3 separate regions of the Homo sapiens genome follow, and all the other regions are linked to region 3. Evidence: promoter capture Hi-C in 16 types of primary human blood cells and fetal thymus (Javierre and others, 2016). All regions are on one chromosome and are shown on one strand. Each heading gives the region's core, a stretch centred on a gene start or on the middle of the fragment in contact. The rest is flanking DNA. Distances are from core to core; before and after follow the strand shown. Region 1 holds the start of ADGRG1 (adhesion G protein-coupled receptor G1). Region 2 overlaps KATNB1 (katanin regulatory subunit B1). Region 3 holds the start of MMP15 (matrix metallopeptidase 15).

What was found. Contacts are between HindIII fragments. The CHiCAGO score rates a contact against its expected background, and 5 or more counts as called.
Region 1: a contact is called between the fragment with the promoter of ADGRG1 here and the fragment with the promoter of MMP15 in region 3, in 3 of 17 cell types (M1 macrophages, erythroblasts and neutrophils). The highest score is 7.1, in M1 macrophages.
Region 2: a fragment that was not itself captured here is called in contact with the fragment with the promoter of MMP15 in region 3 in 2 of 17 cell types (activated CD4 T cells and non-activated CD4 T cells); the score reaches 5.2 in activated CD4 T cells.

What each region holds. Positions count from the first base shown.
Region 1 is chr16:57,625,543-57,629,879 of GRCh38, forward strand. ADGRG1 (adhesion G protein-coupled receptor G1) reads left to right here and starts at 3,088. Exons shown (of 14, transcript NM_201525.4): 1 at 3,088-3,260. RefSeq lists enhancers at 2,269-2,924, 2,925-3,580 and a silencer at 3,130-3,199. The HindIII fragment of the contact is 3,448 bases long and covers 1,712-4,337 here.
Region 2 is chr16:57,755,808-57,760,634 of GRCh38, forward strand. It overlaps KATNB1 (katanin regulatory subunit B1), which reads left to right. Exons shown (of 20, transcript NM_005886.3): 17 at 34-110; 18 at 185-259; 19 at 549-665; 20 at 1,007-1,437. The coding sequence ends at 1,139. KIFC3 (kinesin family member C3) reads right to left here. Exons shown (of 20, transcript NM_001130100.2): 17 at 4,475-4,609; 18 at 3,921-4,029; 19 at 3,318-3,346; 20 at 2,410-3,102. The coding sequence ends at 3,342. Among named protein-coding and RNA genes, the nearest start is that of MIR6772, 14 kb to the right of the region's middle. RefSeq lists enhancers at 1,182-1,821, 1,410-1,704 and a silencer at 1,503-1,652. The HindIII fragment of the contact is 2,219 bases long and covers 235-2,453 here.
Region 3 is chr16:58,024,185-58,028,544 of GRCh38, forward strand. It overlaps MMP15 (matrix metallopeptidase 15), which reads left to right and starts at 1,570. Exons shown (of 10, transcript NM_002428.4): 1 at 1,570-2,328. The coding sequence starts at 2,167. RefSeq lists enhancers at 179-766, 767-1,352, 1,585-2,134, 2,685-3,234 and a silencer at 1,579-1,718. The HindIII fragment of the contact is 2,704 bases long and covers 775-3,478 here.

The sequences.
Region 1 (4,337 bases), core at 1,838-4,337, 400 kb before region 3:
TCTACTCCTCTGCCCATCCCTCCGCATCATTGCTGGTACAAGTCCCTGGCGTCTAGACCAGGGCTTCTCACACCTCCAATTCTGGAATCCCCTGGGCATCTTATTAAAATACACATTCAGATTCAGCAGGTCTCAGGCTATCTGTAGGTCTGAAGACCACATTTTGAGGGCTAATCAGGCCTCTCCCTACCCAAACATCTTCTCTGGCTCCCCAGTACCTTTGATTTAAGCCCAAACTCTACACTTTCAAAATCTTCCAGAATCTGCCCCTTGCTGCCCAGTTAGATCCCACTTCCTTCCAAGCATGGCTCCATGCCCTACCTCTCCACCTCAGCCAATGCTGTTCCCTCTGCCTGGGGTGCCCTTCCTGCTGGTCTCTGTTTATCGAAGCCCCCTTCTTCTCCTTCAGGTCCCAGCAGGGGCTCTGGGGTCTACACGCTTAGTTCAGATCCTGGCTGTTATAGAAAGGCGTGGGTAGCCCTCCCTGTACCTCGGTTCCCCTTCTGTAAAGTGGGGATAGACTGTTGTGAGAACAGAAGGAGAAGATGAAGTGCCTAGCAGGGGCCGGATATCTGGTGTCCCGTGTTTGGTTACAGCCCACACACCTGGAGGCCCAGCCAGGTCCAAGCTGTGCGACCTTGGCTAAGTTACTTCATGTCTCTGACCATCTCTAACATACAAGTGGTACCCAACCCACAGGGTTGTGTGGATAAAATGAGAATGATCTGTACAAGCAGAGCATCTTACACCATAAAACCTCCAGACATAGCAGGTGATTATTAGTCCTGTTATCAGCACTCATAACAGATAGTGTTGTGTTTAACAAGTCATTGAATTTCTCCCCCTTTACTCCCAGAGACCCCTGGATGCTGAATACCAACTCCAGGTATCGCTACTATGAGAACCAGGCTTGTCTCTCTAGCCAGACTCAGAGCTGGGGGCCTGCTTCCTCACCTGCCTGCCCCTAGCTCATAGTAGGTCTCTGCAAAGTCCGACGGTGAGAGAGGCAGGCAGAGCTGGGCAGCCAACTCCGCCCAGCCAGGCAGCCCCATAAGCCTCTCCTATGTGGCCAGAGTGGCAGCTGGCTCCGCACTCTCTTCAGCCATCTGCAGAGAGAGTGGTGCCTTCAACTCTCCATCTGTGCCCTTCTGGTCAGCACGCTCTGTGGGGTGTGTGTGTGGTGGTGGTGGTGGGGGGACAGCTGCCCTGTGGGCCTGGTCCCTGGGGAACAGCTGAGGCTGCCCGGGTTACCAGTTGATCAGGCCCTGAAGGACTGACCTTGGGGAAACTGAGGCAGAGGTGGTGGTATGTCAGGGACAACCCATCCTCCCCTAGATAACTCACTTGTCCTCCCTTGTTAGTGGGCCCCCAGTGTAGGCTGGCCTCTGCTGCTTTGGCAATAAGGGAGTTCCCACTGCAGCCCCGGGAGAGAGCAGAGGGTATGACATGGGCCCAGTCCCCACTGTGCCTCCCTGCCCCAGGTATTGGCCCACAGCCTGGACTGGGGACTGTGAATGTGGGAAGCACAGTGCCGTTTTCTGGAAGCTCTCACCTTATGGCCTCCCTGCACCCCACGGGGTGGCTTTGTGGCCCTTCCTTTCTGCAGCTTGATTTCAAGCAGGTAGGTGAGGAGTGCAGTTCACCTGCAGCAGCCCTGGCTCCTAGGCTGCCCGAGACGTTCCATTCATTCTTCCTCCACGTGGCATGGGGAAGCTTTTCCTGGCCCCCTTGTTTAGAAGGCAGATCTCTACCGGAGAGAAGGAATCTCAAGTTCCCCAAGCATCCACGTGTCCAGGCCCCAGGCTGAGGCCTGGGGTGCTGGATTGCTGAGTGGTTAGGAGACCCGCTATGGAGCCAGACGGCCTGTGCTCCCGCCATCCCAACTCGGGCACCTCCCTGCTGTGTGATCTTGGGCAGGTTAATTCTCATCTCTGAGCTACATGTATCTGCCTTAAGCTCCCTCTTCTTCATCACCACATTCACAGGGAGTATTTATTGAGGGCTTGGCAAGTACCAGGCACTGGTCTGAGTAGCAGGTTTGACTTCTCTCCACTGCCAGGGGCGCTCTGGAGCTGGAATGCAGACGGTGGTCAGCGAGTGTAATTACTGTTATTGTCACCACTCACCCTTCTGGCATTGTAAAAGCCTCCCAGCACATCTGACTGAGGAATCATCTATCCTCATTGCTCGGAGGAGGAGGGCAGACAGGAGCCTCTGCAGGGAGTGTGAGTTATCCAAAGCCTCCTGACTCGAGAAGGGCACTGAACCCCAGCAGCGGGAGGTGCTGCTGACAGAGGAATGACCAGAAGGGGGATGGGGCATGGTCCATTTCCACACTTCTCTGTCTGAGCTTTTGGGGCCACTGGGAATGGCTCTTCACCCAGGCCTCGGTTTCCCCTTTGGCTCAGCAGATGGATTAAAGGAGGCCGTTTCCAGAAGCCCCTGGGGTCTCAGAATCCAAAATGACTTGGGATGTTGAAACTGTGGGTGCTTGAGGAGCACTGAGAGGGGAGACGGGTCACCCCCCGGGGGGACGCAGGTCAGCCGGTCAGTCGTGCGTGGCCTGGCTGGCCTCCTGCCCGGCTGCCTGTCACCCGCTCCCTCCCGACTGCCTTCCGCTCTGCCGGTCAGCACTGGCTCCCGTCGGCTGCCAAGGAGGCTGGACTCTCCTTCAGGAAAGGGCAGTTGTCGCCCTGACCTGGGGGGTGGGCGGACAGCATCCAAGGGCCCTGTTGCCGTGGCAACCCCGGCCTCTCTGTGGGAACTTTGGGGAGACTGGCCCTGGGAGGCGACAGATGGAGGCTGAGGAAGCAGAGTGATCCCCGGCCCCTTCCTGTCCCTGAACACTGTCTGCCTGGATGAGGGGTGAGGCTGAGGTGCCCCCTTGCCCGGCGCTGAGTCATGGGCATCCCCCAGGATCACTGCCTCAGCGCTCTCAGCCCTGCCCCCTCCTGGTCTCCCTCTGAGAAATCCATGACTCACATATATCGTCCGTCATCCCCAGTCAAGCTCAGGGAGGAGGGAGGAGCCCAGCTGGGGCAGGAGAGGGGTGTCTCCCCACCAAACAAACCCGGTCCCTCCCTCTCCGCACTAGCTGTCTGCCCTGCCCTGCCGTAGGAGATGGGCTGGGAGCCTCCCACGCTCTCCAGCTCACTCGGCAGGCAGCGGGGACCAGGGCTGGCAGGTTAAGCCTCTGGGGGTGGATCCTGAAAGGTGGTCCAGCCGCCTGGCCCTGCGTGGGACCCTCCACCTGGCAGCAGGTACCCAAACAAGGGCTGGACAGCAGGTGGGAAGGGGAATAGTGTGAGTGTGAGAGTGTGAGTGTGTGAGCGTGAGTGTGTGAGAGTGTGAGTGTGTGAGTGTGAGTGTGTGAGAGTGAGTGTGAGTGTGAGTGTGAGCGTGAGAGTGTGAGAGTGTGTGAGTGTGAGTGTGTGAGAGTGAGTGAGAATGTGAGTGTGAGTGTGAGAGTGTGACTGAGCGTTTGAGTGTGAGAGTGTGAGTGAGTGTGTGTGAGTATGAGTGTGAGTGTGAGTGTGGGAGTGTATGTGAGTGTAAGTGTGGATGTGTGCATCCGTGCACGGGTGGCTGTTGGACAGTGGGTAGGGATGGTGGTGAAATGGGGAAATGGGGGGGTCTTGGTATCTTGGTGGGATCTAGTCCAGGTCAGCATGGCTGTGGGTGGGTCTCTAGAGTGGGGGCGGACCCACAAGGAGATGCCTGGGAGGGGACTGGGGCCCAAGGGGAGCGACACCTCCCGGGGCTCCCAGGCATTTTGTTGCTGGAGAAACTGAGGCTCAGAGTGGTACAGTCACTGGGCCCAGCAAGCTGGGGTCTGCTCTTTAGGCTGTGAGATCAGTGCTCCTACTACACAGATGGGAGAACCGAGGCTCTGGGAGGGCAGGTGGCTTGCCCAAGGTCACCTAGCACATCCAGGTATAGAAAGCCAGGGGCCAGGCTCAGGGAGGGGGTGGCACTTGAGGGAACTCCTGAGGACAGCTTTCCTGCAGCTGTCCCTGGGGCTGGGTCCGGGGTCCCCACTGAGCAAGGGACAGCCGTGCTCTTCATCACCAAGGCCAGCTTTGGGAGAAGGTGGCCCCGCAGGGTCTCTGAACGTGGGCCACGTGGGTGAGAGTCCTGGAACCGGTGACAGGCAGACGGGGAAGCGCAGGCTGCGGGCTGAACACCCTGCCCGTTGCCACCAGACCTCAGGGCTCCATCTGCCTGGCACTGATAGGACTTCCCACCCTGGTCCCCGCGGGGGCTGGGAGTGTGTAGGAAACCAATGATTCCTGTCCTCCCCCGTCCCCAACCCACCTCCCCTGCGTGGTAGAGTTGGG
Region 2 (4,827 bases), core at 94-2,593, 270 kb before region 3:
TGCCCCACCCCTGACGGTGCTCTGTTTGCACAGACGTCGGTGGACTCCGCTGTGGCCATCAACGACCTGTCGGTGGTGGTGGACCTCCTGAACATCGTCAACCAGAAAGCGTAAGTGGCTGCAGAGGGGGAGTGGGCGGAGGGGCAGGGCTGGGCTGATGGCAGCATGTCCTGGCCTCTCCTAGCTCCCTGTGGAAGCTGGACCTGTGCACCACCGTCCTGCCACAGATTGAGAAGCTTCTGCAGAGCAAGTATGAGAGGTGCGTGTGGGGAAGCCATGCCTGCCTGAAGCAGGGGGAGGGGAGAGGTAAGAAGCCTCCTCCAGAACCATGGGAAGGACCCCCAAGAGCCTGGGTGTTCCTGTGAGCTGGCTGTGAAGCATTGCTGCCCCTCAACAGTCCGGAGGTGGGAGTGGAAACAGGCGTGTGTGGGTGTATGTGTGGGTGTGTCTGTGTCTGTTTCTGCCCCTCTCCTCCTTTGTTCCTTGCTGTTTCTCTTTCTGTCTGTGGCCCTTGGTCCATCTGTGACTTCATCCATCTCCCCCTAAAGCTACGTCCAGACGGGCTGCACCTCCCTGAAGCTGATCCTGCAGCGGTTTCTGCCCCTCATCACAGACATGCTGGCGGCCCCACCCTCTGTGGGTGTGGATATCAGCAGGGAGGAGAGGTGAGGGCAGCGCATGTGTTGGGGGCAGGGGTGCCACAACAGGTGAGGGGACAAAGGCCTGGAGGCCTGGGCCCCTCTTACTGACAGTCCTGCTGGGACAGAGTACAGAGGAGGCGTTGGTCTGGGGCCATGGCTCAGGGTGTGGGTGGGCTTAGCCAGAGCTGGGTTCCTCCATGGCCTGGCTGTGCCCACAATCCCTGGCAGGGCCTGGGTGGTTCCCCTCTGGGCCTCCGCCTTCCCTTGGGAGGAAGGGCTGGAGCAGTTAGGACAGCAAAGGCCCTGGGGTTGGGTGTGGGTGGTGGTGGTGCCAGCTAGCCCCTCAGGCACTGCCCTCTCTACAGGCTGCATAAGTGCCGGCTCTGCTACAAGCAGCTTAAGAGCATCAGCGGCCTGGTCAAGAGCAAGTCAGGCCTGAGCGGCCGCCATGGCAGTACCTTCCGCGAGCTGCACCTGCTCATGGCCAGTCTGGACTGAGGAAAGCAGTGGGCAGGGGCGCTCGGCAGCCCACAGGGCCTGGCCTCAGCCCCCACTCCTGTTCCTTGTGCACCCACTGGCCCATGAGCCTCTGCCTGGCCCCTGCTGCTGTCCTGTGGCCGTCCTGGAGGAGGTGATGCTGGTCCCTGGCCACCTCTACAGCCCTGAACTCTTGAGACAACTCTCTCCAGCAATAGCTGCCCAGCTTTGCCCAACTGTTGCTTCTTGGGGCAGCGAACTGAGCCCTGGGGCTGCTGCTGTAATTTATAAGGCAAATTTTATTAAATTTGTAACTATTCCCAGGTTTCCTTGTGGGGAATGTTTTCTGCTGGCCACAGGGCTCCCCGGGCCCAGGAGTGCCTGCCCCATGGTTTGAGATGAGGCCACACCCCCTCCAAGCCCGGGGGTGGGGCTCTGGGCCATGTGGCCAGCAGGGGGCAGCAGAGAATCAGGCCTCTGGGACAGCACCAGTTCAGCCAGTGCAGACTGGGAAGGAAGGGGAGGCGGCAACCACCCTTCCACCACTGGGTGTTGAGGTTAGGGGTGGCCCCCACCAGCCCGTTCCTCCCCACCTCAGCTACACTCAAGCTGTCTTATGGACACCCCCAGGATGCCTCCAGGGGCAGGACTAGAAGGGCACCTGCCCCTTCCTCTGAGCAGGGCTCCGATCAGCTGTCACTCCCTGCTGGAGTCCCCAGCACTGGCTGGCGGGAAAGGGCTCCCTGCTCCGTGGGCACTGCGACAGGTGGGCCCCCTCCTGCTCCCAAGGCAGGGACCAGGTACAGCCCCGCCCCGGGGTGGTCAGGGTCCTCGGCACTGGAGGAAGGTGGCGTGGACCTCTGGCCAGTTCACTGAAGAGGGAAAAGGCCAGGGCAAAGAGTGGGCAGTGGGTGGTGCCCAGCAGTAACCTGGAAGCCCAGCATGGTTTGGGCAAGGCTTTGATAGCCTTTGAAGCTCTCTCCAGCCTTAGTTTCCTTCCCATCAGTAACATGGAGGAATGCCCCTGTTGGGAGGTCAGTTATCGTGGGCACATGGTAGGTACCGCATGAGGCGACTGTGACCACAAACAACAGAGAAAGTGACCCAGGGTGGGACAGCGCAGGCTCCCCCCAGTTGTTTGTTAAGGACGCATGTCCCTAACTGACCTAGAGGACAGATCCCAGAGGGCTGTGGGGTGACCAGCCAGCGGGGGAGTCCACAAGACCTGCCAGTGCCCCGTCCCCCTAATCAGACCAAGAGGGGCTCACAGACCAACTTTTTCAGACCATACTTGTGTAAAAAGGCTTCTTTTATTTTAATAAGTAAAAATGGCTAAGCTTCCAAAAGTTCTTAAATAGGATTTCAGAGGGAAGAAAATTCGAGAGACCAGCGAGCCAGGCAGGTGAGCGAGCAGCAGAATCCCCCACCCGCTGGCTGCCTCTGCCAGCCATAAACACAGCACGGCCCCGTGGCGGGAGGCCATGCGCCTCCGCACACCCCCCAGCTGCGGGAACCCTCCTTGAAGGAGAGGGGCGGGGAGGGCTGCCATTGGTGCCACCAACCCACCCCAGTCCCCATGGTTCTTGGGTCTGCCCAGAGGCTCCTCGCCCACCCCCTAAGGAGGGGGCTGGCCAGCTCTGCAAGCTGAGGAGAGGGGCCGAGAAAGCCTGGGTGAGAGGCCCACCCTCCTCCACACTCCCGCCCTCCTCACGGGGCCCAGTTCGCTGATGGCCCAGGCCTGCCAGGAAGAGCAGCCACCCCCGCCTTTCCGCCCATGCAATTTGCACTCAGAGCCACAGCCGAGAGACACCGTTTCCTTCTGAACATGTTTCTCATCTTTGAGGGGAGACGGGGCAGAAGAAGAGCCTCCACTCTCGCCTCTACCTCCGGGGGTCCTGGCGCTGCAGCAGGGACAGGCCAGTGAGGGCCCAGCTTCAGGCCCAGCGGGGTCACATCCGTCACACAGGCAGTGGCCGCGACTTCCCTGCAGGGGCATGAGATCATCAGCCTCTTGTCCACTTGCCCACCGGCAGCCCACAGCAGTTGCCACCGAGAGCAGGAGGGAACCCAGCAAAAGCACATAGACAAGCGACAGCAGGGGCTAGACCCAGCTCTGAACAGCAGAACGTCCCAGCGCAGCCCTGCAACCCACTGCGGGCAGGCAGGCGGGCAGCCCTGGGCCACAGGCCCCACACTCACCTAGAGACTCTGCAGCCCCAGCCGTCAGGCTGAAATCAAAGTGACAGGCGTCTCACTGGTGGGCTTGCCTTGGGCCAGTACCCCACAAGACCCTGCTGCTGCTACCCCTTTGGACTCAAGGATGGGCCAGGCCCTCCCATGATCTGGGCTAAACAGGGGCTGGAGCCCTGGGTCCCGGTCCTGTGGCGGGGCTCACTCCTCACCTAGGAGGTAGGCAAGCCCGGCCCTTTCTACCCCCGGGGCAGCTGAGGCACAGGGAGGGGGCTGCAGGGGCTGCTCTGGAGGGGGCTTACTGCACAGGCTCAGCCAGCCCATGCTCAGAGAGCAGGGTCCCAGGGTAGAGTCAGCACCCCCGGCTGAGAGGCTGGGGTCTCCTTACACTGCCCCCTTCCCACAGACCTTCCATTTCCCACCTGCAGAACGGACACAGCACTGTCTGCCCTGACTACTGCCTGGGGGCAGGGGAGGTTGTAAAACAGGTTCTGGAGAAGGTGTAAGAACTTTTTAAAAAGGAAAGAAAAGAGAAAGCCCATCCAGGTAAGGGCAGCCTGGTGACTATTACCCTGGGGAGACTCCCCACCCACACTGCCACTCCAGGCTCACCCGAGGGCTGCAGCTTCCTCCGGATGGATCCAGGGCGGCTACTGGTCCCAGAGCTGGGGGCTGAGTGGGCCCGTGCCGAGGGCTGTGGCGTCTGACAAGCCGGCTCCCACTGTGAGCAGGGAAGGGCGGATGGGCGGGGGCCACGGCTGCCCTGGCTCCCCACCCTGCTGTGCTTCTCTCTACTCCCCTGCCCTGCCTCCTAACACCCAGTTTCCTCATCTGCAAAATGGGCATGATGTTTGTGCCCCAGCCTCAGTTATGGCAAGAATTAAATGAGATAATTCATGTAAAGAAGTCAACTAGTTACCACTGAGCATCTACTATGTGCCACCCCCACGGCCAGCTCGTCACCCCACAGGAACCTCCGAGGCCAAGAAGAAATACCTGTACTGAAGAGGCTGCTGGCTGTGGGTTCCAGCCGTAGCTCCACCCAACTCCGGCAGCTTCCCTGCCCCCACTGCTTCAGGACGTCCCCGCCCAGCTCCCTGCTCCTGCCATGACCCAAAGTCTCTGACCCAGGGCCACCTGAGCCAGGCCTGTGACAGTCCCCGTACCTCTAGATGCTCCTGGCTTGACCAGGACCCAAGCTCTGCCCTGCGTAGCCCAGGCCCCAGCTCCACAGAGCGCACCCTCTCAGCAAACTTGAGGGAATAGAGCGTCTCGCTAGTGTTCTTCTCCACGGGGGACACCTAGGGGACACGAGAGCTCACTGCCCACCCGGGCCAGCTGGAGGGGCAACAGGGTCACGAGAGGGAGCTCACAGCTGGGGCCGTCAGAAGGCTTCCTGGAGAGGCCTGAGGGATGGGGTGGGAGGGCAGGCAACATGGCAGAGGTGCTGTGGTCAAAGGTGGAGAGGAGGGACTGGGAGTTACACAGGGTGTGTGTGGCCAGGTCTAGGGGCGGGGAG
Region 3 (4,360 bases), core at 320-2,819:
CTACAGACGTACACCACCACACCTGGCTAATTTTTGTATTCTTTGTACAGATGGGGTCTTGTCATGTTGCCCAGGCTGGTCTTGAACTCCTGGGCTAAAGCAATCCTCCCACTTCGGTCTCCCAAAGTGCTGGGATTACAGGCTTGAGCCACTTTACCTAGCCCCAAACTTTTTAAAATTGGCTAATCGGGACTAAATATCATGAAAGAGTGCGACGTGGTCGGTTAAACAAGGACAACCCCGTTGTCCGTGTCTGAAGACCACTGCACATTTCCCAAAAGCAAATTTCGAAGTGGAGAATTTAGAAACCAACTTCCCAGATGAAGGATCCCACAGAGAAGTGAGTCCGTGGAAATGATAGAATCGCCCGGTTCCTTTCTCTAAACTCCGACTTCCTTTCCCCAAGGACATCCCAGGAGGGTTCAAACGCGCCCTCTCTAAGGCACTCTGCCAGGTCTCCTGATTTCCAGTTTCCGGGAGGTGAGGCCGGCTAGGGTGCCCCGAGGGCCTGCTCTAGAGAAAACCGCCCTCAGGTGAGGACGGCTTCCATTTCCGGGTCTGAAGATAAGGAACAGCTTATCTTCGGTCTCCGCCCTCCTGCCTGCAACCCTCACCCACTGACCACGCCGGCCAGTCCGCCGCGCCAGGGCTGCCCTTGGCCTGGTCCCCGGGTCTCGGTGGACCTTCGACCCGGGCCTCCCAGCTCTGGCCTCCTGCATCCACCCCGCCCCGACCTCAAGCTGCTTCCGGAATAGAATGAAATCCAGCTCGTTAAGCTTCGCGGGGAGGTGTGTCCACCCGCCCCGCGCCGACTCCGGCCGCACTGTCGCACTTCACTCGCACCAGCCAGTGGCCAAAGTGCTTGGGCACCTATTGCGCCAGGCCAGGAGCCGGAAGTCTTACCTCGCCCTCACCCCAACTCTTTGCCCCACGTTCCCGATAAGAACATGGAGGCTCGGAGAGATTAATTTGCCCACGTGCAAGCGGCAGCTAAGGGGCGGACGCGGAACTTGAACCGTGTCCCTCCTAAACCTGCCCCTTGTCCGCCGCAACGCGCCCTCGACGCGCACAAAACCCTCACTTTGCTACTGAGGAAAGTTATTCAATGGCCAGAGACACCCTGCGGCTTTTGAAAAGAGGTTTCAGGCTGACAAATATCCATATATACATATATATTTATATTTAAGCCTAAAACGACTCTTTGATCCCTCCCCTAAGACCTCCTTCCCGTCCGCCTAGGCCTCGGTATCCCCCACCAGGTATGAGAAGGAGGAGTCTTCATTCTTCCCAGGCGGGGAGACCACGCCTTCCCTGCCTCCTCCCTCCGCGGGGGGTCGCGTTGGAGGTCACCCCCGCCCCCTAGGCGCTGGGTTGGGAGTGACGCGGGGTGGGCTGGAGAGGTTTCCTGCCGTCTGGGAAGCGTAAACGGACCGCCCACCTGTCGGGCCTCGGCCGCCCGCACCTGCTTGTGAGAAGCCTGCGGCTGGGGCACCGCCCCCGGTCCCCGCCCGGGTCCGCGCATTGGGAGCACACTGGCCCTTTAAGAGCGCGGCGGCCGCGGCGCGCGGGGAGGAGGGCTGGGAGCGCCCGGAGCCGCGCTGAACTCGCCGGGGACGTCGGGCGCCCGCTCCTTGGCTGGCTCGCTTGCTCTCTCGCTCGCTCTCTCGGGTCGGCTCCCTGCGCCTCCTCCCGGGACTGCTTGGGGACCCGGGCCCGGTCGGGCGCGGCGGCGAGCAGAATCCCCGTGCAGGAGGCGCGCGCTCCGGGCAGCGCCCGGCCCCGGGCATGGACAGAGGGAGCTGGGCGCGCAGGGAGCGCCGCGGGACCGGGCGGCCGGAGCGCTGAGCCAGACAAAGGCTCCGGAGTTGCGCTTGCTCTCGGGAGCCGGGCCCCAGGCGCTGGGCGCCGAGGCTGCGGAACCTCGCCGGGGGCAGCTCCGGTCGGCCCCCTTTCCCGCCGGCTGGTTCCGAGCTCCCGGACCTGCCCTGCCCGCTTCTCCTCGGGCTTGGGAATTTGCCGAGGCGACCTAGGCGGCTCCGGCGGGGACCGGGAGCCCGAGGTCCGCGGCGCGCCTGCCGGGCCAGGAGCCAGGGAGCGTCGCAAGTTTCCAAGGCGCGTGCGAGGATCCGGCGTGCAGTGTTCCGAGCTGGGCTGGGCGCCGAGAGCATGGGCAGCGACCCGAGCGCGCCCGGACGGCCGGGCTGGACGGGCAGCCTCCTCGGCGACCGGGAGGAGGCGGCGCGGCCGCGACTGCTGCCGCTGCTCCTGGTGCTTCTGGGCTGCCTGGGCCTTGGCGTAGCGGCCGAAGACGCGGAGGTCCATGCCGAGGTAAGACCCCCGCCCTGCCCTTTGGCTGCGGGCTGGGGGCTTGGAGGGAGAGGCGCCACGTCCGCAGGCTGGGACTTGGAGGTGGAGGGAGCGGAGACGCGCCCCCTGTTCTGGGCCGTGGCGGGGAAGCAAGCGGACTTGGCAGTCTGCCCCTCCCCAGCTCGCCCTCTGCAGCGCACCTCTTCGCAAACCCTTGAGGGCGCAGGGCCTCGCTCTCCTCCCCGCTACTCCTACAGCCCTGTTCTGGGCACTGAGCCCCCACCCCGACCCCCTTACATTCAGCCTGTGTCCCGGGAGCCGCTTCCGCCGCCCCCAGCCCTTGCCTCCCCTCCTTCCTTCCCTCCAGGGCAGCCGATTCCTCGAGAGCCCGGCTGGCGCGCAGTGGCGCTCTTTGCGAGTGGGGAGGGGGCTGCTCTCGGGGACAGCCACAGGCGGAGCAAGAGCTGGGCGGCTGGGCAACTGCGCTCCTGCCCAGGTGGCCTCCCGTCTGGGTGATACCGAGCCGCGCACGGCGGGCCAGGATGGAGGCGGGGGGATGGGTGCAAACGGCTGAGGCAGCGGACTCGGGTTGCGGGGGCGCTTTGGCGACTTTCTGCGCTTTTGCGAGGAAGCCTAGGCACGCCCGGGCGGGGTCCTAAGGACGGACCCTGCCTCCCACAGCGCTTCCTCCCAACAGCGCCCCTACGTCGAAGCCCTGGATTCGAGAGGGTGGACCCCGCGCCTCTCTTCGCTAGGAGCCCGCTTGGCGTCCCTCCCGGGGCCCCGCTCTGGATGGGTCCCGCGGGTGACCAGGCGCGACATCCCGGCGTAGAGCCGAGTCCAGCCAGCGCCCCAGCTCCATGGTGTCTCCCGAGCGAGGACACCGAAGGCGCCAGCTTTCTTGCCCCAGAGCAAGAGCAGGGTCCACTCTTCCCCGACTTCTAAGACCTGCGCCCTGCCCCAGATAGGCGGGGAGAGGACTTGGGCGGGGAGTAGGGAGAAAGAACCACCCCGGAGCCGCTTCTGAACGGTGCTCAGGCCTTGGTGCCCTTGGGCTGCCCGGGCTGCGGGCCTGAGCGCCGTTTCTATTTGCAGCTCAGCTGGTGCTCCCTCCCTGGCCCACGGCGGCTTTCCCACCTCTCCGGGCTGCCTGGGAGATTTTTCCGATGGAAGCTTGCCCTTCCCCGCCCTACTTTAATAAAAGCATAGAGGAAGGGCAGGGAATTCCTCCTGGGCTCGAGTTACACCTCCCAGCCATTTCCCCACCTGCTCTGCCCTCCCTCCCTGGCCTGGCCAGGGAGAGCTGAAGGAGGAGCCAGGCCCTGGTGGGAGGCAGGATAGGAGCCCCGCCCCGACCCAGTCTGGCCACCCTCCCCCACCCCATTCACACAGGCAGGAGGAGCTTTAGGGGGCTCCTGTTGGTGAGGATTACCCCTCAGCCTGTGACCCAAGTACTGGGCGGAGAGTGCCATTTGGGCCCACCTGCCACTCTGGGCTGGAGTGCCAAAGAATTTCAAGTCACAGTCCCACCATTGAGTTTCTAATCTACTTAGGGATGGCGTCAATACATAGGAAGCAGTGATGGAATTCAATGGCCGTGCATTGCTAATGGCATCCTAGCTGGCCAGGAGCTCAGGGGTGCAGGGACCTGTAGTTGGAGGGGCTTCACTCTCTCTCTCTTCTGCTTTTCCAGTTCCATCTCACCCCTACCCCAACTCCCCAGCTCAGGGAGTGCCCACAGCTCGATGCCGCCAGGGAAGAAGCCATGGTTGCGTTATCACAAACCGTGCTCCTGATCTGGAGGTTGTGACTGTCCTGGAGCCCTACTCCTGGGGAAACACTTGGGTTGGACCTGGGCAGTGACTGGAAGAGACCCCGGAAGGTTTAAGGAGCCTTGAATGTTGGCAGCCATGCAGATAGAGGGCTAGAGACAGGTGGAGTGTCCCAGCTCCTACAGTTGGCTTTGGGTACAGGCTGCTTCTAGGGTCCCATCAGGTCTGGCCACATGTGGGCCCAAAGAGTCAAATGGCCTCAGCAGCCAGCCCATCTGCCG